4 separate regions of the Homo sapiens genome follow, and regions 2, 3 and 4 are each linked to region 1. The links are contacts of gene promoters, found by promoter capture Hi-C in human tissues and cell types (Jung and others, 2019). All regions are on one chromosome and are shown on one strand. The core of a region is centred on a gene start or on the middle of the fragment in contact, and the rest is flanking DNA. Distances in the headings are between cores, read along the strand shown.

Region 1 (6,544 bases), core at 3,270-5,769:
GCGAGTCAGGAGTTCTGCCTCTGACATTCATTTCACTCTCACCTTTCTGAGAGGGCAGTTAATGATAATCACAAGTAGTCAGGAGCACAGACTCTTTCTTTTTTTTGGCAAATGAGACAGGGATTCTCTGTCACTCAGGCTGGAGTGCAGTAGTGAGACCATAGCTTACTGTAGCCTTGAACTCCTGGGCTCAAGTGATCCTCCCAACTCAGCCTCCCCTCCCTAGTAGCTGGGACTACAGGTGCGCACCACCACACCCAGCTAATTAAAAACATTTTTTTTTTTTTAGAGAGAGGGTCTTGCTATGTTGCCCAGGCTGGTCTCAAACTCCAGGCATCAAGTGATCCTTCTGCTTTGGGCTCCAAAAGTATTGGGATTACAGGTGTGAACTACCATGCCCAGCCAGCATGGACTCTTGAGCCAGGGTTCAAATCCCACAACAGGCTGTGTGCCTCTGGGCAAGTCACTTAACCTCTCTGGATCTCAGTGTCCTCATCTCAATAGCGGGAATAAGAATAGCAACTATCACTTAGGATTAATGAGTTAATACTTGTAATGTTCTTTTTTTTTTTTTTTTGAGACAGAGTTTCCCTCTGTCACCCAGGCTGGAGTGTGGTCGCACCGTCGTGGCTCACTGCAACCCCTGCCTCATGGGTTCAAGCGAGCCCGGCCAGCTAATTTTTGTATTTTTAGCACAGACAGGGTTTCACCATGTTGGCCAGGCTGGTCTTGAACTCAGTAATCCACCCACCTCGGCCTCCCAAAGTGCCTGGATTACAGGCATAAGCCACCACGCCTGGCCAATAGTTGTAATTTTCTTAAAAGAATTCCTGGCACATAATAAGTACTATTTAAGTTTCATACTTATATAAATTTATTTTGTAACATTTGGAAAATAAATAATAGCCAACATTCATTGAGCAGTACTATGTGCCAGGCTGTTCTATGCTTTTTTTTTTTTTTTTTTTTTTTGAGACAGAGTCTCACTCTGTTGCTCAGGCTGGAGTGCAGTGGCGTGATCTCAGCTCACTGCAACCTCCACCTCCTAGGTTCAAGCGATTCTCCTGCCTCAGCCTCCCAAGTGGCTGCGATTACAGGCACCCACCATCATGCCAGCTAATTTTTATATTTTTGTAGAGAAAGGGTTTCGCCATGTTGGCCAGGCTGGTCTTGAACTCCTGACCTCAGGTGATCCGCCTGCATCAGCCTCCCAAAGTGCTGGGATTACAGGCATGAGCCACTGCGCCCGGCCTATTCTAAGCATTACATGTATTAAGTCTTTAATTTGTAATGATCCTATTAAGTGCTATTATCTTCATTTTCCCTATGAAGTAATTGAGACAGAGAAAAGTTAAGATACTTGCCCACAGGAACAGGGACACTAAAGGGCAGCACTGGCAACTGTGCTCCCGTCAGAACAGCCCCAGAGCCCTTAGTCTCAGTTCCTGCCGCCTACTCCTCTTTTCTTATAGAAGGTCAGGTGTGAGGGACTCTGTTTTGCAGGTGGGAAAATGAATGCTCAAAAAGGCAGTTTCCACTTTGGAAGGCCAAGGTGGAGGAGATCACTTGAGGCCAGGAGTTCAAGACCAGCCTGGCCAACATGGTGAAACCCCATCTCTACTAAACATATAAAAATTAGGCCGAGTGCGGTGGCTCACGCCTGTAATCCCAGCACTTTGGGAGGCCAAGGTGGGTGGATCACGAGGTCAGGAGATCGAGACCATCCTGGCTAACACAGTGAAACCCCGTCTCTACTAAAAATACAAAAAATTAGCCGGGAGTGGTGGTAGGCGCCTGTAGTCCCAGCTACTCGGGAGGTTGAGGCAGGAGAATGGCGTGAACCTGGGAGGCGCAGCTTGCAGTAGCCAAGATCATGCCACCGCACTCCAGCCTCAGCGACAGAGCGAGACTCCATCTCAAAAAAAAAAAAAAAAAAAAAATTAGCTGGGTGTGGTAGCATGCCTGTAATCGCAGCTACTCAGGAGGCTGAGGCATGGAGAATCCCTTGAGTCTGGTAGGCGAAGGTTACAGGGAGCCAAGATTGTGCCACTGCACTCCAGCCTGGGTGACAGAGCAAGACTCTGTCTCAAAAAGAAAAAATATATATATAAAGTTCCTTGGCCAAAGCTTTTCAGCAAAACAGAGGCCTGCACTCAGCCTTTCTGCTGCACAGCTCTGAGGCCAACAGTAGGCCCAGGGCTGTGGCTGAGCTGAGCTGGCTAAACCAGCCTTGCTGACTGTGGGAAGCAGGCAGCTGGGGTCAGTCCCCACAACCCCCCACCACTCACTGTGTACCTGGGTTCCACAGATAAAGCGGACAGAGCTGAGGCCAGCTCCAAACTCCTCCAGAGCCTGCAGACCTGCCTGGATCACCTCAGGGTGGCTGCTCAGGCCCAGGTAGTTGTTGGCACAGAAGTTAAGGATTCCTGAGGTGAAGGAGAGGAGATGGATACAGCAGCTCAGGTGGGGCAAGGGCAGGCCTGGAAAGATGACAGTGCCAGGCCCTGGGGAAATGGTCCAGAAAGGAAACAGACCTGGAGTCACCATTGAGGAGGCACCAAATTCAACAGCTACAGAAGGAGCGTCAGTGCTACACATCTTGAAGAGCAAGAAGTTTAAACTTTTTTTTTTTTGAGACAGGGTCTAGCTCTGTCGCCCAGGTTGGAGTACAGTGGTGCAATCATGGTTCACTGTAGCCCCAACCTCCCAGGCTCAAGCAATCCTCCCACTTAACCTCCTGAGTAGCTGGGACTACAGGTGCGTGCCACCATGCCCGATTAAATTTTTTTATTTTTTGTAGAGATGGGGTCTCATTATGTTGTCCGTGCTGGTCTCGAACTCCTAGCCTCAAGCAATCCTCCTGCCTTGGCCTCCCAAAGTGCTACGATTTCAGGCACAAGCCACTGTGCCCAGCCTAAACTCTGGCTTTGAATCACATTCTACCCAAGGAGGAACTCAGCCCTTCCTCACAGGCTTCTCCTGTGCCTGAAGACCACCACTGACTCCTTATCTGACCCCTTGGTTTCCTTGAGGGTTAAAGAAGAGGGCTGGATCAGACGCCTGCTGCAGTCCTGGAACTCCACAGTTTACTTTGCTGCCAGAATCACACCCCCAAAGGTAGGTGCCTGAGATACCAGTCCCCGAATTCTAAAGCCCAGAGTGAACACAGCTGACCTTAGGAGCAAACAGCCAGAGGGGAAAGTTCACACAGCCTGGGAAAGGCAAAAACAGGATGAGAACTTGGGTCTCCTAATTTCCCATCTTTTGACCGGCTCTAAGCTTCCCCTGAGGGAGAGAAGGGATTACCTGGGACCTCTGTTTTACAAATGAGTGCAACAGCACCAAGGGTTCTATGCCTATTTCCTGGGCAGAAGGCAGCTTTGGGAGCTTGTTGATGATTACCACTCACCTGAGGCCTGACACGAATAAGTCAGGTGTAACCACTGGTTAGAGTGAAATGAGGGAGGGCTGGGAGTGGTGGCTCACGCCTGTAATCCCAACACTTTGGGAGGCTGAGGCGGGAGGATCACTTGAGGTCAGGAGTTCGAGACCAGCCTGGCCAACATGGTGAAACCCAGTCTCCACTAAAAATACAAAAATTAGCCGGGTGTGCTGGCACGTGCCTGTAGTCCCAGCTACTTGGGAGGCTGAGGCATGAAAATCGCTTGAACCCGGGAGGCAGAGGTTGCAGTGAACCGAGATCTCGCCACTGCACTCCAGCCTGGGCGACAGAGCAAGACGAGACTCCATCTCAGAAAAAAAAAAGGAAAGAAAGAAATGAGGGAGACCTGGCAGGGCCAACTCATCATGTGATTTCTGTGGCAGCCCTGGGACCCCTTGCTTGCTATGAGTTTACCCAGCAAGCTGTCCTCTCTGGCCAGTCAGGCAATGTTCCAGCTCCAATATTCCAGCGCTGCCTGCAGCTAGCTGGGGGCTTTTGGGCAAGCCATTTCACATCTGTGGATTTCAGCCTCTTCGTTTGTAAAGTGGAATTAGTCATTCCTGCGTCTAGAAGTTAGCAGGAGTTCACGTGCAGCAACAATTGGTAGAGACCTTCACAAAGGAGCCGCTCAAGAAATGCGGGTTTTCTTGCTGGGCAAATCGCCTCCCTCCGTCAAAAGGGTTTAACCAGGCAAGAGTCAATATTAGGAAGCCATAAAGTCGCCCTGAGAGATGCGAAGGGGAACAGTAGCTAAGAGTGTAGGAGCCGCCCACCCCCACCTCCAGGACCTCCATTCCAGCGCAAGCTCGGGAAAGGTCTTGGAACGACTCCCGGAACGGAGCGTTACCTCCGGAGACGCCGTCCACGCGGATGTGCGGCCCCTGACGGGACGTGATGACCCGCTCACTCTTCCAAGTGCCAGCTCCGCGGATGCCTTCCAGCTCCCCCTCCAGAATGCCACGCAGCTGGGCCAGCGCTGACTGTGCGCGGCGGCCGCGGGGCACCCAGAAGAGTGCGGCGCGCCAGGCGTTCCCAGGCCACATCGCTCCTACCTCGCCCGAGCGCGCCTGCCTGCCTGGGAGCCGTGCGCATCGCGGACGCAGCCTGGTCGCGTGGCCGGGGGCCGGGCTCCAGCAGCCAATCGGAGCTAGGGGGGCTCGCTTAAAAAGGCGGGGAGGCGGGCCTAGGACGGGTGGGCGGGGCCTGGCGGGATCCGCCAGGGACCGAGAGGCTTGACTTGTAAGTTGAGACTGCCGAAGTCCGGATGGCAGAGGGGAGGGAAGGGGGCGGAGGAAGTCGCGTCAGGGCCAAGCCCACCAGACTCCCCACCGCATTCCCACGTACTCACCTCTCGGCCGGAAATGGGGTACCCTCTGGACCCCAAAGGCAGAAGCCTAGAAGCCGGCTAAGGCACGTTCCGCAGCCTCCGGGACTAAGGATTCCTGGCTTCTGTCCAGCTCCTGAACCCTCCCCCGCCATTCTCAGGTGCAAACGCCCCAGATGTCCCCACTGCCTGCCCGCCTAACCGCTCCGCATTCATTCTCCAGTCTTCAAAGTGAGGAAAAATACACCGCTCAGTTTCTCCCTTTTCCAATTTATTTTAAAGTTTTAAAATTACAAAGACAGCAAAATTTTCCCGGCACAAGTAACACTTGTTTAAAAAAGGGGGTGGGGGGGGGACGCGCAAGTGCGCGATTTTTCTATTTTATTAAAAATAAGAGAAAGACAACTGTACAGGTTTTTTCTCCCAGCTCCCGGGTGTGAAACTAAGTACTAGCCCTAGATATGTATATATACACAAACACACACATGCACACAGATCTAGCTCTGTAAAACTACTTAGCAAATCCCAAATCGACTGCAGTAAGTCTTACTATCCACTGCCCGCCCACTCCCCCTCCCCCTCCCGCAGCTACAACTACTTATAATAAAGGACTCAAAAAGAGATCGGGAGGTTTTAAGTGGCCGCAGCCCCACCAAACCAAGCAAAGACACCTCTTGTACAGGAGGAACAAAAATCCAGAGGAAAAGAAAAGTCTTCCTAGGACACAATCCATCGATTGCGTGGAAAAACCTAAGTTTCAACAGGGCACACTGAGGCACTTGGCTGACTCCCCACCCTTCCCCTGAAGTTTTCACTCCGGTTTAACAAGAGAATTTGCTGAAGCCACAAAGATCCCCCAATGGCTACATCCTAGCTGACTGGGAGAAACTATGGCTTCTCCCATCCAGCTGTCACTTGGACCCCACTCCCCTTCCCTAAGAAAATAGGGAGGCCGAAAGCGCAAACTAACAAAAATGAGAAGGAAACTGGGTTTGGGCCCCCACTGCTCACCACTGGGAGGTGGAAGTCAGCCCGGTGGCGGTTTTTTTCCCCCTCCTTCCTTTGCCGGCTGGCTGCTCCCTACCACCTCTCTCCTGCTGGCCAAAGGTTCTGAAACTCTCACAACGGGTGCCCAACTCAAAGAAAACTCACTCACCCTAAAGATATTCCTGCTAACCTCACAATTCCTGGGTTCCCTCTCATCTAGCCAGAACAAACTGCCTTGTGTCTTCTCCCCACCCACATCTACCTTCATGGCAAACAAGCCAACAAAACACACAAGCCCCCCCCGCAAATCCCTAACCCCGTAAGTAGGTTAATAGCAAAACAAAATATAAGTACATTCTCATCATTAGATTGGTTGTTGCTGTCCTTGCACAACTGGTTAAGGAAAAATGAATTATTCTGTAATTTCTGAAGAATCCAAATCCTGTCTCTTATAAAGTCAGAACAGAAGGGGGCAAAAGGTGGTGGTGAGCATCAAGAGAGAAAAAAGGAGAAAATTATTTACAGAAAATAGGAGACAGGAGGGAGTGTCCGCAAGAAAAGACTTCATTGTCACTTCTTCTTGCCGGCCCTCTTGGCACTGGACTTTGCTTTGGGTTTCACTGGTTTGGCCTTTTTGGGCTTGGATGCCTTGACCGGCTTGGCTTTGACAGTCTTGGGTTTTTTGGCTTTCTTGGGCGTGGCAGCCAGCTTCTTCTTGGCCTTCTTGACCGGGGTGGCTTTGGGTTTCTTGGTTGGGGCTTTGGAGGCAGCCTTCTTGGGCTTGGATGCCT
Region 2 (6,160 bases), core at 2,910-5,409, 250 kb after region 1:
GCCTCCTGCTGAGTAACTGAGTAAGTCACCTCCCTTCTCTGTGCATTAAAATCTCTGCCACGCAGCGAAGCCAGGAGGGAGCAGACACCTCACCAAAGCTTTGTGAAGCTGGGTAAACAGCCAGAGCAGAGGTTCCTCTGAACCATCCACCTTCAAGGAGCTTCCTGGAATAAGGATCCTGTGGTCAAAAGTGGCTTTTTCCAGCTGCCTCCTCCATGCGTGAGCATATTCAAGTCTCTGAGAAGGCCCGCAGGAAAAGACTTTATCACAGTTTGTCAAACTGACGTAGGAGCCTTGCTGTCAGGGAGCAAGCTTTGGAAAAAGCTCAGCTGGTGCCAAAAGCTATTTCTTGTGCATCTCTCCTTCCTGATTCCCCACCCCCACCATACACACACACACATCCTCCCCTGCTCCAGCTTCTCTAAGCATCTCTTGTTCTGACCCCTTTCCTTCTAGTGTCATACAAAGTCCAGGCTAGAGCGCACCTGTGATCCTATGCTTTTCCTGTGGCCCACTGAGGGCAAAGCTGGCTAGAGGTCAGATCCACAGAGCTAGTTGAGACTTGAACTCAGAGCCTCTGACTCACATAAGCCCTTGACTGGCTTGTGGAGCCCAGTCTCGCCTCCCGAGATCGGCAATGCACTTGGAGGGTGGGGAGGCCGCCTGGATTTTCCTGCCTTTCTCCCTTGGGCATCTAGCTTGGGCTCTGCACTTAACAAGTGCCAAATCAATGCCAGCTGAATCACAGATCTCCATGATAACCTGCATGCCAAAACATCACCCTGGCCCCTTCTGAGAGTGGGAGGGCAGGCTGGGCTCTGTGTCCTCACAATGTGACCTTGGGCAAGTCACTTACCTACACAGACCTGGGACCTCAGCTGATAAAAGTCAATAATGATCCTTAAGAACACCTATGTCTGCGGCTCAGCCTTCTTCCTTTTTTAAAACCATTGCTGCCACCTCCAAGCATAGAAATCTCAATACTGCCCTTCTAATGTTATTTGAAATTCAAAATAGGTTAAATAACAAGATAAGAACAAAGAAGCCAATAGGACAAAGCTTGCTTTGTTTTCTGACTACATTCTCTTCCCTTCCCACCATCTGATCCTCCCCCAACCCTAACTCCTCCCCCTCGTGGGGGGGAACTTCTGAATCATCTTCTTCCCTCCCTGGCACCCCCGGCACCGAGAAGTCCTCGTGGAATGTTTGCTGAAGTTCTGAAGCGATCCACAGTTGGCCAACCATTACATGATGTCATCTGATTCTCCAACAACCCTGCAAAGCCGCAGCGTGGCCTATTTGACAGGCAGCACTGAGGTTCGGAGGGAAGGGAGACCTGTCCAAGGTTAAGTGACAGGTTCATGGCAGGGCCAAGTTTCCCTGCTCAGCAGGGATTAAGGATGCATCTCTGGGGGAAGGAATGGGAGCGGGAAGGGTGTTCCTCTGTACAATGTCCTGTAGAAGGGTCTGCCATGTGGCCTTACCCACTTGCTCCCACCCCAGCTCCCTGACTTTTTTTTTTTTCTTTTTTGAGGCAGGGTCTCACTCTGTCACCCAGGCTGAGTGCAGTGGCTCCATCACAGCTAACTGCAGCCTCGAACTCCCAGGCTCAAGCGATCCTCCCACCTCAGCCTCCTGAGTAGCTGGGACTACAGGCACATACCACCATGCTCAGCTAAGTTTTTCCACTTTTTGTAAGGACAGGGTCTCACTCCATTGCCCAGGTTGGTCTCAAATTCCTGAACTCAAGCCATCCTGCTGCCTCAGCCTCCCAAAGTGCTGGGATTACAAGTGTGAACCACCACACCTGGCCTCCCTGACTTCTTGAGGCAGCACCTCATCTCCCAGCAAAAGGGGCTCCTCCCCCCTGAACCCCCATGGTCACTTTTGACTTGGGGGACCAGCTTCCTCCCCAATCTTGCGATGATCCCATCTTTCAAATGTTTCTGGGCACCCCCCCAATAGTACCCACCCCTCACACTACCCTGCCTACTGCGGTCGAGAGACTCTGCAGCGCTGTGGAGCTGAGGGCAGGGTATTGGGACCCGGTCTTCCCATGTGGAAAACGGAACAGCACACCAGGCAGTTCCCCTCCCAGGGGAGTTGCAAGGGTAGAAAATGTAATGAAACCCTCAGATACTGGAGCAGGGCAGCCATGGGTTCAAATCTGACACCTTTACACTAACATCTCTCATTCCAGGGACCCCGGTGGCAGCCACGTGGCACTTGCTGCCAACCACAGGGCACTGCTGGCCATCAGGTGTGCCTCACCTGGCACTGGAGTAAGCAGGGCTCCAAGTGTCCTGGTGCCAGGCTCACCTCCCCTCACCTGCTCAGGAACACCGCCCGTTAGTGTTCAGAACACCCCTTTCACAGATGGAAAAAACGAAGCTCAGAAAGGAGACATTTACCCTCAGTCACAGACCAACATTGCTGGTAAATGCCCCAGGGTGGGGGTGAAGACGATGGGGAATGGGGAAGACGATTTGGAGGGCTTGGATGCCCAGTGCTGAGCCCGGTGTGGGGTGCAGGTGCAGGCCTGGGAAGACAGGAGACCCAGCTCTGCAGATTCACTGCCTGTGACCTGGGCAAGGAGGTCACCACACAGCCTCAGTGTCCTTGGAGTCCTTATATTTACCCTATAGAGGATAGTCAGGGCCTGGGCACATGGCCTGAGCTCACTCAATGGTGGGAATGACGCAAGAACAAGTTTTGGAGCCGGGATCGGGCCAACAGGGGTCGCTGTGGAGGCACATGTGGTCGCGGGGAGGCCAAGGGCGGGTCTGAAGGAGAGCGGGGGCGGCTGCACCCTGGCATTCACCTGGGGGTCACCCGCAGGCCGCAGTGCTGGCCAGGGGCCCACGTCTCATCCTGGAGGCCACTGCTCGGGTGCACACAGCCCACTTCCTGCGGGCATCCAGCTGGGTGACGCCCCCCCCCACCGCTGGACAGCGGGTCCCTGTCATGGTTACGGCAGCTCCCCCAAACCTGCTCTGGTCCCTGGAATAAGGGGTTAAACCGGTCGGCTGACTTCTCCTGCTCCTCAAAGTCCAGACGCTTCAAGGTGGAGAGACGGGGAAACTGAGGCCAGAACGGGGTAGCTAGTTGTTCGCAGTCGCGCTAGGGGACCCGGTCCTCCGTATTCCAAGGGGGGCACCGTGGGCCATTAGGGAGCGACGGGGAAAGTGGAAAGGAGACGCGCTTCGTGCCCACCGCCCCGAGTTAGAGCCGAACCAGCCCGGGACCGAGCGAGACGGAGCGGCTGCGGGCCGCGTCTCGGGTCCCCGCGCCACGTTTAGTGCCGCTGCGGCCTCCCGGCCAGTCCCCCCTACTCTCTAAGCCTCAGTTTCCCGGTCTAGGAAAAGGGCTTCGAATGTTGCGGGTCTGGCACTGCTGGGGCAAAGGCAGAACAATCTGGAGGGCGGCCGGGATTGGAAGTCCGGGAAAGACTTCGGCCATCCAACATTCCCTGGGGGGACGGGGCTCAGGACGCGGAGGGTCGCTCCGCGGGGGAAGGGGACGACCGGCTGTCTTGGCCGGAGGGGAACCGGACGGGATGACCTCATCCGCGGCTCCAGCCTGGAATGCGGCGGTCGGGGAGGGGGGCAGGGTGCCTGTCCATCTCCCCGGGCCCCCCACCCCCCACTTCCCGCTCTCCGCGTGGGCCTCGGCGGAGGGGAGACATTCCGCCGCGTCGCCCGCTGCCCGCCCCGGCCCTTCCTTCCCCCGCGCAGGAAGGCGCGGAGACAGCCCCCGCTCTGCCCCTCGGCTCGCCCCCTCCTCGCGCATTTTGGCCGCTCAGCCGTGTCCGATCCTCTGCCCCCTCCACCAGCCTGGAACGGGACACGAAGCCCGAAAGCTCGGAGTTTCCTCGCGCGGCTCCGCGGCCGCGCCCGGCCTTCCTGTGGGCACCCGGGGGCGCCTCTCCCGGGCGGGTCCCGTCCCCGTTCCGGCCCCGGGAGCCTAGTAGGGTGCAGAGTCCCCGCGGGCGCCGGGACCCGCCGGCCTCCACGGCCTCCGCCCCGAGGACCCGCGCGCCCGGGCTGTTACCTGGCTCCGCGAGCCCCGGGGGCGCGGGACGAGGGCGGACTCGTCGTCTGCAGCGGCGGCGGCCGCGCGTCCCGGCTGGCAGCCCGGGAGAGTCGCTGGGCCGGTCTGCGCCGCCCTGGCCGCGGGCTCCGCGGGCTGGATCCGGGGGCGGGGGCGGGGTGTGGGCGCTCCCGCCTCCCGCCCGTCTCCTCCCGCCCGCGGGCGGGGCCCGGCCCCCTCCCCGGCCCCCTCCCCGGCACCGTCCTCGCGGCCGCCGAGAGCTGGCAGGGACGCGGCTGGGGGGCCAGGCCAGGCCTCTGCTCGCCACCCCGGACAAGGCCAGCCGGGGAACGTGCGGGCTGCCCCGGGGAGGCGACTCCGGTCCCCGGCCGCCAACCCCTCTTCCACCGGTTCCCCTCGTGGCCTTGCTTGGGGCGTCCAGGCCTGATGAACTCTCCTCCCTCCTGGGCCCTCCAGCCGCGCCCTGCGGGAGTTCGGGGAACCGGGAAGCTCGATCTGAGGCCTTGAATGCCTGGGCCTTTAAACCTTGATGTTTACAGGCATGACATGCCCACTCCTTTGCTCCCCATTCTCATTCCCTTCCATCCGGTACAGGCCCCGCGGTGCCCAGGAGGAAGACAGCCATACTGGGGCGACTGGTAGAGTGGGGTAGAGTGGCCGTCAAGACCGGGACCCTGGAGCCGGACAGCCTGGGCTCCTGTCCTGCCTCAGTCACTACTTACCTTTCTCTGCCTCAGTTTCCTGATCTGAAAGTGGGATAGATAATAGCAGCATCAGATGTTGTGTGAAGTGTTTCCTGCTCCAAGAGCACCTAGGAGGCTTGCTCGGCAGGTAAATGAAGTCGCATCTCAGAGACTTTACAGACCCTCCCCCCACCCCGCCCACCTCCATGGAGGGCAGGGAATCAGCCATACCCGGGACCCTGTGCCATCCTCAAGGAGGGGAGATAGATCTCTGGCCCCTGCCTCCCGTTGTTGTGCCCTCCTTTGACTACTCCCATCTGACTATAGAGTCCTCGGGCTGTCAGGGCACAGAGAGGTCCCTAATACTTCCTGCAGGGCCTGGGGGCTCAGGAAATCTTCCTAGAGGAGATGATACCTGAGTTAAGTCTCTCTCTCTCTCTTTTTTTTTTTTTTTTTTTTTTTTTTTTTTTTTTTTTTTTTTTTGAGACGGAGTCTCTCTCTGTTGCTCAGGCTGGAGTGCCATGGCATGATCTCAGCTCACTGCAGCTTCCACCTCCCGGGTTCAAGCGATTCTCCCTCCTAAGCCTCCGGACTAGCTGGGATTACAGGCACCCACCCACGCCCGGCTAATTTTTGTATTTTTTAGTAGAGAGGGGGCTTCACCATGTTGGCCAGGCTGGTCTTGAACTCCTTACCTCAGGTGATCCGCCTGCCTTGGCCTCCTCAAGTGCTAGGATTATGGGTGTGAGCCACTGCATGGTTGTGAGTTAAGTCTTAAAGGACGTGTAGGCAGAGGGAAGGGCAGTGGAAATGCACAGTGCACAGCTGGCAAGGGACAGCACAGCAAAGGCTGGGAGTGGAGGACCCTGCAGCGGAGGCAAACCCGGCTGAAGGAGACTGGCTGAGCGCTGTTGTGGCCGGGGATGAGGAGCTGTATTTACCCGCAGGTGGAGGAGACAAGGTCTTTACTGTTCACCCAGGGGCTAGGCCTCTTCCACTGGCTCCCTGAATCCCCATGCTGGCCACCAAGGGAAGGAGCTATTTCTGCAGCTGGACAAATGAGGAAACAGAGGCACAAAGCATTCTAGCATTTGCTCAAGTGGCACAGCAGTAGGAACTCTTTCCCTGGGGGCCGGCCCAGGAGTATTTTGTCCCATGGAGAACTGGAACAGCATCAGGACAGTGAGCCAGCAGGCAGCACTGGCAGGTGTACATTTAGAAGACTGACTGTTGCCCGGCGTGGTTGCTCACGCCTGTAATCCCAGCACTTTGGGAGGCTGAGGTGGGCAGATTACTTGAGGCTGGGAGTTTGAGACCAGCCTGACCAATATGGTAAAACTCCGTCTCAACTAAAAATACAAAAATTAGCCAGGCGTGGTGGCGGGTGCCTGTAATCCCAGCTACTCGGGAGGCTGAGGCAGGGAGAA
Region 3 (6,650 bases), core at 2,629-5,128, 260 kb before region 1:
CTGAGACTCCTGAGCCCAAGGCCGGGTGCGGTGGCTCACACCTGTAATCCCAACAATTTGGGAGGCTGAGGCAGGCAGATCACTTGAGGTCAGGAGTTTGAGACCAGCTTGGGCAACATGGCAAAACCCCATCTCTATTAAAAATACAAAAATTAGCTGGGCGTAGTGGCGCGTGCCTGTAATCCCAGCTGCTCAGGAGGCTGAGGCAAAGAATCACTTGAACCTGGGAGGCGGAGGTTGCAGTGAGCTGAGATCACACCATTGCACTCCAGCCTGGATGACAGAATGAGATTCTGTCTCAAAAAAAAAAAAAAAAAAAAGAATCCTAAGCCCCAGTAAGGGCCAGGCTGAGCGCTGTGACATGGCCCCACCTTGTGACCCTGTCTGATCCCAGGCCCCTCCCTTCCTACTCTACATCCAAGCCCTGGGGAATCAGTGGGGACAGGGCCGGCACCGGGCCCACAGCCTGGCGGTCTCTGATGTCTTGTGCTTCGGCCAGGTCAGGCTCTCCTTCTTCCCTCCCCACGCAAACCACACTCCAAGCCTTTGCCGTGTCATTTCCCTACACTGATTATTCCCTCCTCCACCCCAAAACACCCCATCCCCAGGAATCCCTCTACTCATCGAACAGCACATCTGAGCACTTGCTCTGTGCCTGGTGCTGGGGCACCAAGGGGAGGGGCAGGGGCAGCCCCAGCCCCGCAAGGCTGATGCGAATCAGGGAATTACACAAACCACTTTCTAACGACTGCTCAGGAGACAAAGGCTTCTCCCAAGAGGACTTGCCTGAGCACGGGAGGGCGCTGTGTTCACTCTCATCCTTGCAAACCAAAAGCCCTTGAACTTGGGACCACATTCATCCAAATATAAAACAGGATTTTAAAATCAAGTCCCAAAGGGAAACCAAAATGAGCAGATGCAATCAGAGTCAGAGGTGGGGTGTGAACTGCTCCCGCAGAATGAAACACAGGCGTGCTCAGGGGCCACCCCACAGGGAGCAGCTGTAGGCCAACGGCAAGCGGGCTGCAGTGGGAGTCGGGCCCGGGCTCCAGTTCAGCTGTGTGACCACAAGCAGGTCACTCCCCGCCTGTGGACACCTGTAAGATGGGAGAGTAATCCCTGCCCAGCACCCAAACAGGGGAGCTGGGCCAATGCTGCATCCCTGTCATGGCTGTGTGCAAATACAAAGAGCTCTTGTCCTCATGGGCAACCTGAGGTGCTGGTATGACCAAGCCTGAGAGGACAGGGAGGGACCTGGCGAGTGGAGATGGGGAGGAGATGCGGAGGGGGGAAGGGCTGCCAAATGGGGCACACACAACCCAACTCGGCCAGAACGAGACCCCCTGCACCTGTTCCCATGATCAGCTCCTCTGCCTAACAGGTCATACCTGAGGCAGTGATACCCAGACCACGTGGAGTGGCAGCTGTGGGGTCTCAATGAACCTTGCTGCTTCCTTTTTTTACAACAGAGCTCTGAGCCCCAGCCCCAGGCCCTGATTTGTCCTATGGCTAAAGGGGCTGGAATAGGAGAATGTGCAGGATGGGACTCTTCCTACAGCAAGGAAGGAGAGAAGCACGGACTACTCAGGAGCAGGACAGGAGGATAAAGGGGAGAGAGGATGGAGCAGCGGCTGGCCTGGGTTAAGGCAGGAAGGCGGACTATCAGGAGTGCCAGAACCCGGAGGATGGAAGTGGGGCTGAGGGAGGTAGCTGCCACCCTTGGCCAAGCTGAACTCACAGTGGGGACCCTTGCCCCCGAGACTTTCAAATCACCCCATGGCTGTGCACTGCCTGCACATCAGTTCTTTCACAGTATTGGTTTCCTGAGACTAGCTAGCAGCCACTTCGCTAGGAAATGGCAAAGGGGCTGCATGCTCGCTTCAGGAGAGGCCGGGATGCCGCCTGCCATTCCAGTCCTGGAGCGGCAGGGGTGGGGGAAAGCGGGGCAGGCAGTGTGTGACTCTGGTCTGTAGAGCAGAAGATCAGCTGGCCTGGGAGGGGGGTCTCTGGGTGTCTATGAGCCCAGGAGGCTGTGTGGGACCGAAAGTTCCTACAGGATGGGGAAAGGGCACTCTTCTTTCCCTCCTAGCCCTCACAGGCCCAGCGTGACCCGGCTGACATTATTGGGTGTCTACTGACCCAGGGAGGATCACCTTGGACTTTTAGCTTCAGCTCTGGCACTGACTGGGGACACATGGGCTTGCCTGAGGGGTGGTTCCAAGTCTGTCAGCTCCCTGGGAGCTCATGGGGACCTTGTGGTCTTGCTGCCCACTCTCTTGCCAAGGTTCAGCACAAGTCCTGGAGCACGATTAGTATTTATTGAATGAATGAGGGATGGATGAGGGAGGCTGGAGTGTGACCCTGACCCTGCACATGACAAGGAAGGGGGCGGTGAGGGCTGATACCCCCTTCCAGGCCTGCTGGGACCTCTGGCAGCCTGGAGGTCTCAGAAACATGTGTTGCTGCCTCTGGACACCTGCTCTGCAGCAGCCCTTACCTTCACCTCCTGAATCATCTTCGCCACCTCCACCTTAGTTTTCCCTTTGATTGACCTGCCATTGACACCGGTGATCTCATCGCCAGCTGCCACTGTGCCGTCCAAGGCTGCTGGGGTGTTGTCAAATACCTGTGGGTGCATAAGGAGAGTGGTGGGGGAAGAAAGGGAGGGCTAAGATGGAACCTGGGAAGACACCTGACCACTGCCTGGCTCTGTCTTCCACTCTACCCTCTGCTCTCGTTTTTTGAGAAAGCGTCTCACCACCCGGGCTGGAGTGCAGTGGCGTGATCACAGCTCACTGTGGCACTGAACTCCTGGGCTCCAGCAATTCTCCTGCCTCAAATACATAGTCAAATGATTTCTTTTTTTTGAGTCGGCGTTTCGCTCTTGTTGCCCAGGCTGGAGTGCAATAGCGCCATCTCGCTCACCGCAACCTCCGCCTCCCGGGTTCAAGCAATTCTCCTGCCTCAGCCTCCCGAGTAGCTGGGGTTACAGGCATGCGCTACCACGCCCGGCTAATTTCGTATCTTTAGTAGAGACAGGGTTTCTCCATGTTGGTCAGGCTGGTCTCAAACTCCCGACCTCAGGTGATCCACCTGCTTTGGCCTCCCAAAGTGCTGGGATTACAGGTGTGAGCCACCGTGCCCGGCGGCATCAAATGATTTTTGACAAGGGTGTCAAGAACATTCAATGGGGAAGGACAGTCATTTCAACAATGGTATGTGAAAAATGAAGTTGACACTACTTAACACCACATACAAAAATTAACTCAAGGCCAGGCGCAGTGGCTCACACCTGTAATTCCAACACTCTGGGAGGCCAAGGCAGGCAGATCACCTGAGGTCAGGAATTCGAGAGTAACCTGGCCAACATGGCGAAACCCCATCTCTACTAAAAATACAAAAATTAGCTGGGCATGGTGGCAGGCGCCTGCAGTCCCAGCTACTCAGAAGGCTGAGGCAGGAGAATCGCTTGAACCTGGGAAGTGGAGGTTGTAGTAAGCCGAGATCATGTCACTGCACTCCAGCCTGAGCAACAGAACGAGACTCTGTCTCGAAGATAATAATAATAATAATAATTAACTCAAAATTGTTCAAAGACCTAAATGTAAAAGTTAAAACTATAAAACTCAGAAAAATGCCTAGTCCAAAACCTTCACGACATTGGAGTTTACAGTAATTTCTTGGATGTGACACCTAAGATCCAAGTAACAAAAAATAAACAAATTGAACTTCATAAAAATTTTAAAACTGGTGCATCAAAATACACCATCCAGTCTGGGCAATGTGGCAAAACCTTGTCTCTACAAAAAACACGAAAATTAGCTGGGCATGGTGGTGTACGCCTGTAGTCCCAGCTACTTGGGAGGCTGAGGTGGGAGGATCGCTTGAGCCTGGGAAACAGAGGCTGCAGTGAGCTGAGATCCCGTCACTGTACTCCAGCTTGGGCAACAGAGTGAGACACTGTCTCGAAAAAAAAAAAAAAAAAGAACAGAGAAGAGAAGAAAAGAAAGGCAACCCACAGAATGGGAGAAAATATTTGCAAATCACATTTTTGATAAGGGATTAATATCCAGAATATATGCAGAATTCCTAAAACTCTTTTTTCTTTTTTTCCTCTTAGCCGATTGTGCTTTGTAGAGAATTCTTAAAACTCAACAACAAAAACCAAACAACCTAATTCAAAAATAGACCAAGGGCTGGGCACGGTGGTGCGCACCTGTAATCCCAGCATTTTGGGAAACCGAGGTGGGAAGATCGCCTGGGCAATATGGCAAAACTCTGTCTCTACAAAAAAAATACAAAAATGAGCCAGGCATGGTGGCGCGTGCCTGTAGTCCCAGCTACTCGGGGGTCTGAGGTGGGAGGATCGCTTGAGCCCAGGAGGTTGAGGCTGCAGTGAGCCATGATCGCACCCCTGCACTCCAGCCTGGGCGACAGAGCAAGATCCTGTCTCAAAAAAAAAAAAAGTTAAGATGGTAAATTTTACCACAATAAAAAAATAGAAAAAAGCAGAACAGAGAATACAGAAAGCAGGATGTCATCATCGAGATACATGACAAGAAGGACATGGTGTTCCCGATGACGCCCTCTGAGGATCTGGCACAATAAACAAAAGCCTGTGCCTGCAGCTACCATCACGACTCCTCCCAACACCAGGGACAAAAACAAAGTCCTCAAAGTTCTCACAGATCAGAAATAAAACACATCACAAATAAAGGATCACCAATAAGAATGGCAATAGCCATGTGACAGCAAAGGACAATGTGACAAGGCCATCACACTTCCACACAGGAATTACTGTCAACCTTGACGTTCATTCTTGAATCGAATGAGCCAAAATGTCAACTGAAAGGAATATGGGAACCACAATGACCAAAAAAGACAGACCCGAGGTCTCAAAAAATTGACATCCCACGTGCCCTTTCTCAGAAAGCTACAGGAGGATATTCTCCACGGGAGATCAGGGAGTAAACCAGGAAAGGGACCCCCAAGATGGGGGAATCCAAAGAGAAGGGGCAGGGGCAGGGGGAGGGCACAAGGGGGAGAGACTACAGGGCGGAAAACAGACTGAAGAAAATGGGGCCGGGCATGGTGGCTCACGCCTGTAATCCCAGCACTTTGGGAGGTCGAGGCAGGTGGATCACTTGAAGTCAGGAGTTCGAGACCAGCCTGACCAACATGGTGAAACCCCGTCTCTACTAAAAATACAAGAATTAGCCAGGCGTGGTGGCACGTGCCTGTAATCCCAGCTACTTCGGAGGCTGAGGCAGGGGAATCACTTGAACCCGGGGGCTGGAGGTTGCAGTGAGCCAAGATCACGCCATTGCACTCCAGCCTGGCAACAGAGCAAGACTTAATTTAAAAAAAAAAAAAAAAAGATGGGAAATTGTGGAAAACATACTGAGAAAACAAGGAGAGTGCAAATGAAAAAAACAAAACAGGAAATTACCCCCACCCTCTCAAAACACAAGAACAGGCTGAATTAAGAAAAGAAACATAGATTCCTCAGAAAGTTAAACATAGAGTTGTTTTGACTAGAATGAGGGCTCCGCAAGAGTAGGATCTTTGCTTTCTTATTCTTTTATCCCTAGTGCCTACAACAGAGCCTAGGAGGCATCTGGAAAAGATTTCCCGAACAAAATCTCCGTTGTACTAATATTAATTTAGCCAAAAATAGAAAAATAACTATGTTGGAAAGGTGGGATGAGAGGAAACAGACTGGTCATGGGAAGAACTAAATTCTCATCTACCAGACGAGGCAAAGTCAATAGATATTTACAGGTGATAGATCAAGAAACAACAGGATAGGCTGAGCACGGTGGCTCACGCCTGTAATCCCAGCACTTTGGGAGGCTGAGGCGGGTGGATCACTTGAACCCAAGAGTTTGAGACAAGCCTGGGCAACATGGCAAAACACCGTCTCTACAAAAAATACACAAAAATTAGCCAGGTTTGGTGGCACGTGCCTGTAATCCCAGCTACTTGGAGGCTCAAGTGGGAGAATCATCTGAGTCTGGGGAAATCAAGGCTGCAGTGACCCATGCTTGCACCACTGCACTCCAGCCTGGGCGACAGAGTGAGACTATTGAGAAAAATGGAAGCCCATGCATGAAGAGACAGAGAAAGCCGGGTGAGGTGCCCAGGGGAAGGGCAGTGGATTGCTATTATTTGATACAGGGCTTTTAATGCTCTTGACTTGGTAGAGGCAAGTCATATGGCACTTTGATAAAAACAAAATTGAATTTAAAAAAATCAATTCTATGATGATGATGATTATTATTATTTTTGAGACGGAGTCTCACTCAACTGCCCAGGCTGGAGTGCAATGGCACGATCTCGGCTTACTGCAACCACCATCTCCCGGGTTCAAGCGATTCTCCTGTCTCAGCCTCCCAAGTAGCTGGGATTACAGGAACCCGCCATCATGCCTGGCTAATTTTTGTATTTTAGTAGAGACAGGGTTTCACCATGTTGGCCAAGCTTGTCTGGAAGTTTTCACCTCAGGTGATCTGCCCACCTCAGCCTCCCAAAGTGCTGGGATTACAGGTGTGAGCCACCGCACCCGGCCAGTTCTATTATTTTATTGGCTGGTGGTTCATGCCTGTAATCCTAGCACTTTGGGAGGCTGAGGTGGGTGGATCGCTTGAGGC
Region 4 (6,591 bases), core at 2,630-5,129, 180 kb before region 1:
GGTGATCTGCCCGCCTCGGCCTCCCAAAGTGCTGGGCTTACAGGAATGAGTCACCACGCCTGGCTCAGTATGTTTTTCTTTTTTTCTTTTTTTTTTTTTTTTTGAGACAGAGTTTCGCTCTTTTTGCCCAGGCTGGAGTGCAATGGTGCAATCTCAGCTCACTGCAACCTCCACCTCCCGGGTTCAAGTGATTCTCCTGCCTCAGCCTCCCAAGTAGCTGGGATTACAGGCGCCTGCCACCATGCCCAGCTAATTTTTTTTTTTTTTTTTTTTTAGTAGAGACAAGGTTTCACCATGTTGGCCAGGATGGTCTCAATCTCTCGACCTCATGATCTGCCCACCTTGGCCTCCCAAAGTGCTGGGATTACAGGTGTGAGCCACCACACCCAACCAAGGCCCAGTATGTTTTTCTTAACTCCACAAGTGATTGTAAATTCAACAAGAATTAGAGCCAGTCCTAGGCAACTGATTAGAAATGCAGAACCTCAGGCCCCACCCCAACCTGAAGAATCCCAGTGCGCCTTCCCATTTGAGAAGCACTGCCCTACGCCAAACCCCGTATCCGCAAGCCAGGCCCTGTGAAAGGCCCCCGCAGGGAAACTGGAGGTAGGAGGGCACACAGTCCAGATAGAATTAAAGAGTGGAGGCCAGGACCCCCCAGGTCGCATCCACACAGCACTCAGAGGTGCTAAACGCTTTCCCTGTGTTCCCTCATCCCATCTCAGCCCTGTCCTCTGAAAGTCAGGAAGACAGTCTCATGCCTGTGTGGGGAAACTGAGGCTGGGGCAGAGCCTCAACTTGACCAGACCATCCCTCACTCCTGCATGGCCCCTGGTTCTGCAGCCAGCAGATTTCCTGACCTTCATCTCAGTGTATCCTTCAGGGCAGGCAGGGAGGGAGGGTGACCATCGCCCCACGTGACAGGTGAGGGACCAGGGACCCAGTGGGGGAACACAGGCGGAGCCTTCCATAAAGCCGGACCAGCTCCCTCAGGAAGAGGACTTGGGAGCTGGGGGGTGAAGGGTCACTGCTGACCGGAGGCAGCTCTGCCAGGCAGTGTCATCAGTGGGCTTCACGTTTGACTGACAGGTATTCCTTTCCTCTCCTCCTCTCTGGGGCCCATCTTCTGAGTAAATCCGGGACCTGCCTTAACAAAAGCCAGGCTGAGTCCCAGGAAAACCCTGTTGCTCCGGAAAGGCCTCCTTGGGCCATGGAAGGAAGCCTGGATTTCCACCATTACACTCAGACCGCAGACCCCTCTCTGCTGCAGAATAAACACCCTGAGAGAAGGCAGGTCATAGAGCCTACCAGACACCACACCTTGCCATGGACGGTGACAAACCCTCACTTCAGGACAGAGAGGTGATGGGGGGTGGGGTAAGGAGGTCACAAGCATCCCTGGAGAAGGGTCAAGAATGAGGGGGTAAAGGGACCCCTGCCACCCCCAGCAGGGAAAGGAGGAGAAGGTGACACTGGCCCTCCTGTTGTCCTGCTGGGGCAGAGGCCCAGGTGTCTTCAGCCAGGATCCCTCCCCTCTCCAAGCTCCCTGCTCTTCAGGAATGACTATGGGTCCTTCACCCTTGCCTGCTGGAGAGCACTGGGTTCCCAGGGCCTGGGATGGGATGGAGGGGATCCCAGTTGCCAGCATGGTGGGCAGGGATGTGTTCGCAGCAGGGGCCCCAACCACACACACACAGCACTGGTCATCTGACAGCCCTTCCCACCCGCCCTGCAGGCCCACCTGCCTCACCCAACACTGCTCAGCAAAAAGCCCAGCACAGCCCTGAGAGGAAGGCAGTGTCTGTGCGGGGACAAGGGAGAGAGAGAGGGAGTGGCCCCTTCTGTCTAGCGTGGCTTCCTGCAGACAGAGCGTGCCCACTGCTACCCCCACCCCCATCCTGGCACAGCTGGACCAAGGAGGGCAAAGGAGGAAGCAGGGAGTTAGAGAGGGGGCAGCTGTGGGACCCCACATTCCACCTCCTAACTCTGGGCTCTTTCCTTCCACAACCACCCCTCCTGCCCCAGGCGGGTCTCAGGCCAGTCACAGACACAGCAGAGAGCGGGGAGGTCCTTTCCTCAAAGAGGAGGAACTGAGGGGTGGAAGGATGAGTGGGGACCCACCGGGAGAGAGAGATGCCAGGCAGGCAGGCAGCGGGCGGGCAGCAGCGGGTGTTGGAGGCGACTGCAGGGCAGCCGGGACACGACGGCAGATGCTCGTCCCTCGTCCCTCTGTCCATCCAGGGCGGCTCCTCTCCGGGCGGTTCTGAGGCCGAGCGGGCGCTGTTAAAAAGCTTTTTATGTGTGTGTGTGTTAATCACATGATTGCCGTTCACCTGTATTTCGAACAAAGACAGCTCACTGTTTCAAGGCCCCGAACAAGAGTCTGGGCACAGGGAAGAGAAGGGAGGCGGGGGGAGGAGGGTTGGCAGCGCCGGGGGTGGCGTCGAGGAAAACTGGGGGGAGATTGTCCAAGGCCAGCAAGCGAGAGAAAGAGAAAACCCTTATCAAACTCCTAATTCACTGGGCTCCGAGGCCCCAGACACACTGGCCCGATTGTCTGGCTGGTTGTGTGTGTGAGCATGTGTGTGTGTGTGTGTGTGTGTGTGTGTGTGTGTTCCAGTGTCTGCTCCCCCCACCCCCAACATGCCTCTGCCTCGTGTGACTACCTCATTGTGTCCCATTTCCCACCCCCTACACCCCTTTGGACTTTCCCAAGCATGAGGCCTTGCCTCCCCAGACCCTTTGCAGCCCACTCCAGACAGGACCCCTTGGGGTGGTCTTGGGGCTTTGCCCTGCTGTTGAGGAGCTCAGAACGTCACATGGTTGCCAATGCGACCCCAGCTCCATTACATAACCCACATACACCCCACCTCGGCCTCAACACCCCGGCGGGGCTGCCCTCAGTTAAGAGAACAGCACTGCGACCTTTGGAGGAGAGGCCAAGGAAAGAGAGAGAAAAAGGTGTCAACGGAGGATGGGCAGGAAAGAAAAGGGGAGGGAGGGAGAGGTGGGCAGAGGAGGGAAGAGGCAGGGCAAGTCCCCACCCCTTGTTGGGGTGGGGGAGTAGAGGACTTCGTGACAATCAGGACTAGGACTCCCCTACCCTCTCCCAAGACAGGGTGAGCCCAGTGTGGAAGGAGCTGGGTCCCAGTAGGTAGCAACCCAAAATGCCTCTAAGACCTACTGAGAGAGGGCCCCCAACCTGTCCCACCTTGGCCTCCTGGCAGCTTTAGTCTTGTGTTTCCACCTTGAACCAGACCAGAACGCGCGTGTGCTGGGTGTCTGCAGAGAAGGGACCAGGGGTCAAGCTGGGGCTCTGCACTTCTCAGAGGGATCCCTGAGAAGTCTCTCTTACTGTGCAGGATGGGGCAGAAAGGGCTGCCTGGGAAAAGGTAGGAGGCAGGGTGAGGAGCTGGGCATCAGTGCCTGGCACACACTAGGCACTCAACAGGATTTCGCAGACGAAGCAGCTAGGGCCAGCCACCCTCACGGGCCCCCAGGACCCTCACCGCCTTCACGTCTCTCCCTAGTCCCCTGCCAAGTGCCCATCCTGCCACCTGAGGCAGACGTTAGGAGTCCTGGTTGGGCCCAATTTTCTTCCATCCAACAGGTTCTGACCCTCCAGCCTACATCTCTTCCTTCCTCGGCCTAACCTCCCCTCCACCTCCCAGACTAAGCCCAAGATAAGCCTCAGCAAGATGGGCCTGGGCAGTAGGGCAGGGAGCTGGGTGGGGGGGCCTGGGCTCCGGGTGGAGGAGCCCTGAGTGTTGGGGATGAAGGAAAGCCTGGAGGCTCCACCTTCTGCCCTTCCCTCCCTCCTCTCCCCTCCCCCCTCTCCCCCTCCTTCCTTCCCCAGCCCTCCGCAGCGGCTCAGGCTCAGTCGCTCAGTCAGTCTCGGGCTGTCCGGCCAGGGTGGTTGGTGGTAAGGATTCAGGCTCCGTCCTAACGAGGCCGTGGCCTGAGGCTCAGGGCCCCCCGCCCCTCCCTCCCAGCCCACCAGCGTCACCTCCCAGCCCCGAGCTGGACCGCACACCTTGGGACACGGTTTTCCACTTCCTAAGGACGAGCCCCAGACTGGAGGAGAGGTCCGAGGAGGTGAGTGCGCAGCCTGCTCCTCCCTGGCCCGCCCAGGCCTGGGACCCTGCTGTGAGGTGGAGAGAGGCGACACCCCGCCCTTGCCCCCCACCTGGCTCTCCTCTAAACCCCGTTGGGGCAGGCTGAGGGAAGAAGGAAAGGTGAGAGAAAAGGTGGGAAATTCCAGGGGCCGGGATTAGAGCAAAATAAAGGCTCCGTTTTTTTCTTCCTTATCATCAACAAACCTCCACCCAAAAAAGGAGGCTAAAAAAAAAGCCACCCACACCAAGAGACGGTTGGGACCAGGTGGTGGGAAGACACAGAGGCGGGACGCACCCACCTAGAGTCTGGCATGTGCGTGGGCCCCAGGGGCCAGATGGGTTTAGCTGGAGCAGGAAGGGCCGCCACCTCGGGGCTGTGCCCACGTCCTGTCTCGGGCCGCCCTCGGGGCTGCGCGCGCGGCCGCTCCATCGCGCCCTCCTTCCATCCAGGTGGGCGTTGGACTCTTTGCGAGGACCCCGGCGGCTGGCCCGGGGGAGGCGGCCGAGGCGGCGGCGGCGGCGGCCGGGGGCGACATGGCGGAGGAGCAGGACCTATCGGAGGTGGAGCTGAGCCCCGTGGGCTCGGAGGAGCCCCGCTGCCTGTCCCCGGGGAGCGCGCCCTCGCTAGGGCCCGACGGCGGCGGCGGCGGATCGGGCCTGCGAGCCAGCCCGGGGCCAGGCGAGCTGGGCAAGGTCAAGAAGGAGCAGCAGGACGGCGAGGCGGACGATGACAAGTTCCCCGTGTGCATCCGCGAGGCCGTCAGCCAGGTGCTCAGCGGCTACGACTGGACGCTGGTGCCCATGCCCGTGCGCGTCAACGGCGCCAGCAAAAGCAAGCCGCACGTCAAGCGGCCCATGAACGCCTTCATGGTGTGGGCTCAGGCAGCGCGCAGGAAGCTCGCGGACCAGTACCCGCACCTGCACAACGCTGAGCTCAGCAAGACGCTGGGCAAGCTCTGGAGGTGAGCACCCGACCGCCCCCCGGGCTCGGGCCCTCTAGCTTCGGGTGGATTCAGGGTAGCCGAGGCGGCCCGGCCTCCTGCACCTCAGAGCGGGACTGTCTGGCAGTCCTCCTTGGATAGGGCTGGAAGACCAGGTGTGGGGGCCGCGCCCGCCCTTCCATCACAAGGACCCTGGAACTCGGAACTCCAGCGGCCTAGGCCGGGTCTCCCTACGGGGCGGCGGGCAGGAAGGCGCCCCCTCGTGGTTGGAATTTTGCGGGTGGCAGACCGTGGGGCCTGGGGCTTTGGAGGGAGGGAAGGAGGCCTTCACTAACTCCTGCCCACAGATACGCACACTATGCCACCAGCTGCTGTGGTCAGGAGGATACGAGGGAAACGCTTGGAAAGAACCAAAGGGTTGGCTGGAGATTCAGGGAAACTGAGGCAGTCAGATGGAGAACTCAGGGGAGGTTTAAAGAAAACGGAATTCAGATGAGAGTCTTTGGAAGAGTGAGGGATGAAGAACTGCGGGACAAATCTGCTGCTGCGGGACCTCATCCTATCCTAGGGCTCTTCCCTGGGACTTTCTGACGCCACCCTCCTTTGAGTTGGGGGCTTCTTCATCCTCCTAGGGAGAGGACACACAGTAAGGGGCTCCCCCTCCTGCCCTGCCCCAGAGTCACCAAGCTGATCTCTTTCCTCCCTCTCCCAGTTCGGCGCCATCTTCCCTGCCAGGGCCCCACCCCAACGTTGAGCAACCTCTTCCCCACTGCCCCAGAGCTGGAGCTGAGCACTCTGGCCAGAAGGAAACCTTGGCCTCCTTCCTGCCCAGGGGCCCTCAGAGTCCCAGGTTCCCTGGGACCAGCCCACACCTCTAGGAAAAACATCCCCCGCAGGGAGCAATTATCCCACCCTCGACTCAGGTCTGGGGTTCAGCCAGGCCTCCTGGGGATGTGTGGAACAAGACAGTCCCCCACTCCCACCCGGGAGTGCCAGAGCAGCTCTGAAAGAGACCAGGGACTCCAGGAGATGTGAGCCGGTAGCAGTCACCTGATTCTCGCTAGACTGACCAAGAGACAGGCCCAGAAAGGCAAAGGAATCACAAAGGTCACATAGAAGTTGGTAGCAGAGCCAGGGCCAGAACCCAGGACTCCCATACTCTCTGTCCAGAGGACTTCCCCTGACCCTGGTGACAGTGGTGGATCACCTACACTTTGAGGAGTGGTCAGGAGGTTGGGGGGAAGCAAGAAGATGAGAACAAGAGTGAGGAGCATCTGGGTTCCAGAAAATTAGGGCTTTGTCAGAGGAGCCCGGCTCTCTTCCGCTGCCCTCCCCCTTGCCAGCCACAGTTGGGTAGAGATTGGGTCTAGAGGCTTAGAGTGGTAGAAGGTGCAGGAGGATCTCCAAGAGACCAAAAGATTCACATCCCGCCCCCTGGCCTGTTCTTGCCATGTGTTTGCTGAAGACCTGGTGCCCCTTCCCCTGCCCCTTCTCAGCCCTCAGTGCCCTGCTCACCCAGGGCAGGCCCAGGGCTC

The links. The method cuts DNA at HindIII sites, captures the fragments that hold promoters and counts their contacts. A contact is called where the count stands out against the background at its distance.
Region 2: a contact is called between the fragment with the promoter of CDC42EP1 here and the fragment with the promoter of GCAT in region 1, in 1 of the 25 tissues and cell types used here (pancreas).
Region 3: a contact is called between a fragment that was not itself captured here and the fragment with the promoter of GCAT in region 1, in 1 of the 25 tissues and cell types used here (thymus).
Region 4: a contact is called between the fragment with the promoter of SOX10 here and the fragment with the promoter of GCAT in region 1, in 4 of the 25 tissues and cell types used here (lymphoblastoid cells, mesenchymal stem cells, ovary and 1 more).

The regions. Positions count from the first base shown.
Region 1 is chr22:37,805,909-37,812,452 of GRCh38, reverse strand. GCAT (glycine C-acetyltransferase) reads right to left here and starts at 4,519. Exons shown (of 9, transcript NM_014291.4): 1 at 4,290-4,519; 2 at 2,296-2,426. The coding sequence starts at 4,485. H1-0 (H1.0 linker histone) reads right to left here. Exons shown (of 1, transcript NM_005318.4): 1 at 5,021-6,544. The coding sequence ends at 6,324. RefSeq lists a silencer at 4,415-4,704 and an enhancer at 6,133-6,544. The HindIII fragment of the contact is 28,064 bases long and covers 2,704-6,544 here.
Region 2 is chr22:37,558,479-37,564,638 of GRCh38, reverse strand. CDC42EP1 (CDC42 effector protein 1) reads right to left here and starts at 4,159. Exons shown (of 3, transcript NM_152243.3): 1 at 4,051-4,159. RefSeq lists enhancers at 173-673, 674-1,174, 1,702-2,308, 2,309-2,916, 2,917-3,523 and 1 more. The HindIII fragment of the contact is 19,033 bases long and covers 687-6,160 here.
Region 3 is chr22:38,060,978-38,067,627 of GRCh38, reverse strand. It overlaps PICK1 (protein interacting with PRKCA 1), which reads right to left. Exons shown (of 13, transcript NM_012407.4): 4 at 2,498-2,626. Among named protein-coding and RNA genes, the nearest start is that of PICK1, 6.9 kb to the right of the region's middle. The HindIII fragment of the contact is 9,593 bases long and covers 1-6,650 here.
Region 4 is chr22:37,981,843-37,988,433 of GRCh38, reverse strand. SOX10 (SRY-box transcription factor 10) reads left to right here and starts at 3,879. Exons shown (of 4, transcript NM_006941.4): 1 at 3,879-4,095; 2 at 4,566-5,077. The coding sequence starts at 4,650. It also overlaps a transcript of POLR2F not described here. RefSeq lists enhancers at 1,984-2,818, 4,773-5,610. The HindIII fragment of the contact is 28,697 bases long and covers 1-6,591 here.